Linked DNA regions of Homo sapiens: region 1 is linked to region 2. The links are contacts of gene promoters, found by promoter capture Hi-C in human tissues and cell types (Jung and others, 2019). All regions are on one chromosome and are shown on one strand. Each heading gives the region's core, a stretch centred on a gene start or on the middle of the fragment in contact. The rest is flanking DNA. Distances are from core to core; before and after follow the strand shown.

Region 1 (3,017 bases), core at 491-2,990, 59 kb before region 2:
GCCCATGCTGTGTTCAGGGGCCCCCCCAGAAGGTGTCAGCCTGGAGGAACATGCCCCACAGTTATAAAAGGCATCATTCCAGGAGCTATCATGGCGTCTGCTAGGGGCAGAGAGGAAGGGGAGGCAGGAAAGGGGCTGAGTATTTTGGGGCTGTATGCTTATTGTTCTACTTTTCTGTTGAAGTTATTGCAGTTGCTGCCCTCAAATTTTTCCTGCCTTTCTCCACCCCCAATTTTGCCCTATTTTCCCTAATTTTTCTCCTTTTTTTTTTTTTTTTTTTTTTTGAGATGGAGTGTCACTCTGTCGCCCAGGCTGGAGTGCAGTGGTGCGATCTCGGCTCACTGCAACTGCCACCTCCTGGGTTCAAGCTATTCTCCTGCCTCAGCCTCCTGAGTAGTTGGGATTACAGGTGTCCACCACTATGCCCAGCTAAGTTTTGCATTTTTAGTAGAGACAGGGCTTCACCATATTACCCAGGCTGGTCTCGAACTCCTGACTTCAGGCAATCCGCCAGCCTCGGCCTCCCAAAGTGCTAGGATTACAGGTGTGAGCCACCGCACCTGGCCAGTTTTTCTCCTTTTGTCCCATCTTCCTTTTTCCTTCTCCATCTGTTCCTTTCTGCTTCTCAGAATAAGCATCTCTATCCTTAGCTTCAAATCATAAACAACTTAGAAACAGTTACTTAGCTGAGTACTGTCTCTGTGCCAGGCCCTGTGCTGAGGGCTGACATTCATTGTATCTTTGGGTCCTCACAACAGCCATATGAGATAGGTGCTATTGTGCCCATTTTATAGTTGGGGATACTGAGGCTTAGGAAAGATAAAGTAACTTGTCCAAGATCACACAGCTGGAATGTGGCAGAGCTAGGATTTGAACCTTGACAGTCTGGCTAGAAGGGACCTTACTGATCATCTCTGTCCAAATCCTCCATAATGTACAGAAGAAAACAGGACCAGAGGCATCAAGTGACGTGTCCGAGGCCCCACAGCTAGTTAGGGGCAGTGCTGAGAACAAGAAGCTGGCCTCCTAATTCTGAGATTCTTCTTGTTTAAGAAGCATTTTCCATAGGTGGGCATCTGCTAGGCTTCTTTATCTAGAATTATTAATTCCAGGAAGCATGTGCCCTGGTCAGGCACAGAATCAGCAAAAACCCCACTGGAGACCCAAAATACCCTATATGCTCTCACCATTGCAGAATCTGTTGTGTCTGCAGGTGCAGCCTCCGGGACCCAGGACTTTCTTCTCAGGGCTCTGCTGAGTTGGGTGGGGGAGGCTGGAGGCTGCAAAATGATGACAGAGCTTGGGGCTATGATCTGGACTGGGTACCCAGAGCTAATAGGAGAAGAGGACAAGCAGGGGGACAGAACTGAGTCAGGAGACACTTTAGACGATGGAGGGTTGGGGGATGGAGGTGGCTAGTGAATAAAACACTTCTGAAGGGTCTTTGCTGCCTGTGTTGATGGCCATGATCAATTCGGATCCCCAGGGCCAGTTCAGCAAAACCTCTGTCAACAAATAGAGGATTTGTTTAATCTTTTCTGAAAGAGTCCGATGTTATCTAAGTGAGGACTGGCCAGGTAATTGGAACGTTCTAGAGACTGTTGGGTTGACTTGGATTTGGGGTCAATAAACATAGCGGCTCCACTACACTAGTGTGAGGAGGACCTCGGGAGAAATCGCATAGCTCCCTGGGCTGCAGTTTTCCCATCTGTGATATGGGGATAATGTCCTCACCCTGTCGACCTCATGGGGCTGCTGTGAGGGTCAGATGAGAAAATGGGTGGGGAGGTAATAATTAGTGAACAGCACCATTCAAAGCTACAGTGGTCTTATTGCTGTGTTTTCCTAATTGTATTTTGCACTGTGGCTTTACACAGCCCATGTCTCTGGATTGTTAAAAGGATCAAAAAAGATCATGAGTAGTGCATTCCTCGGCATTTTGTATCTCCTATAATTCCTGGATACAGATAAATGTTTATTAAAGAATGTGAAGGTCTCATCAAAAACCAAGCATGAGAGGCAAGACAATTATTACCTCAGATCACATACGCCTTGGATTTCAGAGCTGGAAAGAGGGTTAGAGACCTATTCCAGGACTTTACTCTACAGCAAAGCAGTCCGGGTTCCAGAGAGCCCAGGTGACTTGCCTTGGCTGGGCTGGACTCTGTTCTCTCCCCACCTGGACCTTGTGTCCGAGGAGCAGTGTTGGACCCTCAATTCAGACAAAGTGGGAAGGCAGATCCCAAGGAGGGGAGGGCTGGTGGCCCAGGTGGCTGCCTGGAAGATACCATCACTTCTCATGCTGTCTTAGGTGAACTTTCAAAGTCCAGCGTAAGAAAAAGTTTCCAGCAACAGCATTGTGGTTAGTATTGCAGGCTTTGGAGTGAGACAGTCCTGGGTTTAAATCTTGGCTGTCTACCTAGTATCTATGTGGTCTACGATATGTTACATAACCTCTCTAAGCCTCAGTTTCTTCAACTGTAAAATGAGGATATCCTGAGGTTGTTACCTTACAGTTTGCTGAGAGGAATAAATGCAATAATGGACGGGTGTGCTCACCCCAGAGCTTGGGACTGGGTAAATACTCATAAATGACAGAGGTGGGAGTAGTTGTTACAGTAACCTACCAGAGGGAAGAAGAGTGTGCTCCCGTTTAATCCTTATCACCTACGCAGTGCTTGGCATATAGGAGCGCAACAGATGTTTCTTGAACAAACATCACTAAGTAATGCCTACTTCTGCCCTTATTCCCCCTCAGCATGTTCCTTGCCCAGCTGCTAGAATGATCCTGCCAAAACATATAATCATGTATCTTTTCTGCTCCAAGTCCTTGACCTCCATCTCACTTAGAGCAAAATGTCCTTCAAGCTTGTTTGCAACTGTCACTCTCTCCCCAAACCCCCAGAACTCAATACGTCTGACCTCACCTCCTACTGGCCTTCCCCTCACTCATACCACCTCTTTGCAGTTCCAGGAACATGCCAGTCTGCACTGCCACCTCCGTCTTCTCCAGGTTC
Region 2 (2,961 bases), core at 326-2,825:
CCTAGGTAGGCCTCAAGTTCTTCATCTGCAGAATGGGGTATATAATACCTACTTCAAAGAATTAATAGAAGAGACAACGAATGGAAGGCAAATGGAAAAGTGATTAATCAAGCATCAGTTTCTTGCATCCTGTCTTTATCAACAATGTTGTACTTTCAGAGTTGAACTCAAATGTGAGAGCTTTGTCAAAAAGACCCTCCATCAAATCAGGCTCCATTCCTGGACTCTGTGTGTCTCCGGCCTCCCAAGCTGGGTGTCTGTGACCCCATCCCTGAGACAGCAGAGATCCATCAGAGTTGTAAGTGTGGCCCTGCACCAGAAGGTGGGCAAAGGGCGAGGAAGAGATACACCTTCAATCAGCTCTGCATCTTACTGAGGAGCCACTATGCCTGTGGAGGCCTAAAGACTGCAGTAATCATTGTAATCGTCCATGATATTGTACGTTAGCGTCTTGCTGCAGGAGGGAAAAGCTTAATTCAGGAAGGGTAAGAGAGTGAGAAACCCTGAAGTCACATATTAAAGTGCTTAAGTACCTAACAATCTCTATGCCCTGTAAAACCTTTAAGAATAGGAGCCCAGGCAGGGCGCGGTGGTTCACGCCTGTAATCCCAGCACTTTGGGAGGCTGAGATGGGTGGATCACGTGAGGTCAGGAGTTTGAGACCAGCCTGGCCAACATGGTGAAACCCCGCCTCTACTAAAAATACAAAAATTAGCCGGGTGTGGTGGCACGCACCTGTAATCCCAGCTACTCGGTAGGCTGAGGCACGAGAATCGCTTGAACCTGGGAGGCAGAGGTTGCAGTAAGCTGAGATAGCGCCACTGCACTCCAGCCTGGGCCACAAAGTGAGATTCTGTCTCAAAGGGAAAAAAAAAAAAAAAGAGAATAGGAGCACAGTTAATAGAGACACTGGGCCCCAAGACGACTGAGAACCACTCACGGATGAGAAGTCCTCGGGCTGCTGGCAGAGAATTTACCCCAGGTGCGTGGCCCAGTGGCGGAGGCTTGTGGGAAATTCCTGGTACCCAGCTGCCCAACATCTGGGACGCTGCAACGCCCACCTACCTGCCTGCGCGGCAGAGAAGCAACAGCCGTTCGAGCCACGCTCCACTTCCCGGGAAGAATTCTGGGGAGAGTGAAGGCTCGCTCTGTGGCCGCCCCGCCCACAGCCCGCCTGGGGAAGCCGCGGGCCCCAGCTCACCTGCAGGTTGCTCACGGAGAGCTGCAGCGGGCTCAGGTAGAAATAGGGCACGCCGCTGCCCGCGCCCGGGGGCCCGTCGCTGAGCGAGAGGACGTCGGCGAAGGGCCGGCCGCGCACCGCCTCCAGCGTGGAGATGGTGGCCAGAGCGCCCCAGTCGGAGACGTGCGTCACGAAGCGGGCCACGCGCGCCGCGTCCTCGCGGGGTGGTAGCGGCGGCAGCCGGGAGGCCTCGTCCCAGTCCCCGTGGTCCCGGCCGCCGCGACCCCGCGCGGGCGACACGAGCAGCGCCAACAGCGTCGACGCCAGCAGGGCGGCGAGCAGTGCGCGCGCGGACCCGCGGGATAGCCCGGCCATGGCGGTGTCTCCAGGAAGAGTCCCGGGCCCCAAGACCTGCAGGGACCCAGCCGGAGCTCGGCGCGCCCAGGCCCCGCCCCCTCCGCGAGGCGCCAATCAGAGCTAAGCACAATGCAGGGGGCGGGGTCCCTCTGCAGCTCCGCAACCTGCAGGAGAAGGGATTGGTTCATCTGCATTCCAATCGCTCTGCCTGCCCTCTTTAAGGATTGTGAATTTGTCCTAAACGGGATATTTGTTTTGTTTTGTTTGACAGGCGGAAAAAGAAAGGCTTGAAGAAATCAAGCAACTTGCCCAAATCGTACTGCTAGGAAAAGACCAGCCTCTTTACACAGGCACACACCCCCTCCTTTTAATACCTTTGGAGATGAATATCTGGCATCTGAGAGGAAATGCTGCATTTTCTACCCATGCGCCTCTTTTCTGTTGAATTTACCATCAGCTCCAAAGAACAGCGAGGGTCCCAGCGTTGTAGAAGCCCAGACTCAGGCTCGTGTACCCCATGTGTAGCTGATGCCAAACACTGACATATAGGTGCTTGGAGATAAAAGTTTATTCGATTTGGCCAAAGCGAGAAGGCGGGAGGGCAAGATCTCTCAAATCCGCCCTAACAAAAAGAAGAAGCAGAGAGTGTTTATGCGGCCAGCGAGTCAGGGAGGGGGAGTTTCAGGGAATCGAGGGAAAAAGTCTGTGTTTCTTCAGTCTCAGATAATTCCTTGAACAATCAGACTTCTGGGCGACAGAAGCTGGCCTCAAAGTACTTCAAAGGACTTATTCCTCCTGCAAACTTTTTCGTAACCCTGAAGTTATTATCTCCTCCTGCTTGATAAAGAAACAGTACATCAGCAGTTTATGATTATGTTGTAGGAACAAGGGATATTGGGCAAAAAGAGAGTTGTCAACATGTGCAAGCAAGGGCCTGATCAGAATTTTCATTATTTCAGTCACTAACAAATGCTGGGGTGCTGAAATCTCAAGGGGCCCACTTACACTAGTAGTAAAGTTAGGCAGAAGCCCGAAAGTTCAAGACCTTTAAAAAACTTTTTATTTACTTATTTTAAAATTTTTAATTTTTGTGGGTACATAGTAGGTGTATACATTTATGGGGTACATGAGATATTTTGCTACAGGCATACAATGCATAATAGTCATATCAGGGTAAATGGGGTATCCATTGCCTCAAGCATTTATCCTTTGTGTTACAAACAATCCAATTATACTTTTAGTTATTTTAAATGTACACTTAAATTATTATTGGCTATAGTCACCCTGTTGTGCTATGAAATACTAGGTCTTATTCTAACTATTTTTTGTACCCATTAACCATCCCCACTCCTCCCCTGCAAGTCCCCCCACTACCCTTCCTGGCCTCTGGTAACCATCCCTCTACTCTCTGTCTCCATGAGTTC

What was found. The method cuts DNA at HindIII sites, captures the fragments that hold promoters and counts their contacts. A contact is called where the count stands out against the background at its distance.
Region 1: a contact is called between a fragment that was not itself captured here and the fragment with the promoter of CREG1 in region 2, in 1 of the 25 tissues and cell types used here (adrenal gland).

The regions. Positions count from the first base shown.
Region 1 is chr1:167,492,777-167,495,793 of GRCh38, forward strand. The region is part of intron 1 of CD247 (CD247 molecule); the gene reads right to left. Among named protein-coding and RNA genes, the nearest start is that of CD247, 24 kb to the right of the region's middle. The HindIII fragment of the contact is 6,253 bases long and covers 1-3,017 here.
Region 2 is chr1:167,552,187-167,555,147 of GRCh38, forward strand. It overlaps CREG1 (cellular repressor of E1A stimulated genes 1), which reads right to left and starts at 1,576. Exons shown (of 4, transcript NM_003851.3): 1 at 1,202-1,576. The coding sequence starts at 1,555. RefSeq lists a silencer at 1,265-1,714. The HindIII fragment of the contact is 6,052 bases long and covers 1-2,961 here.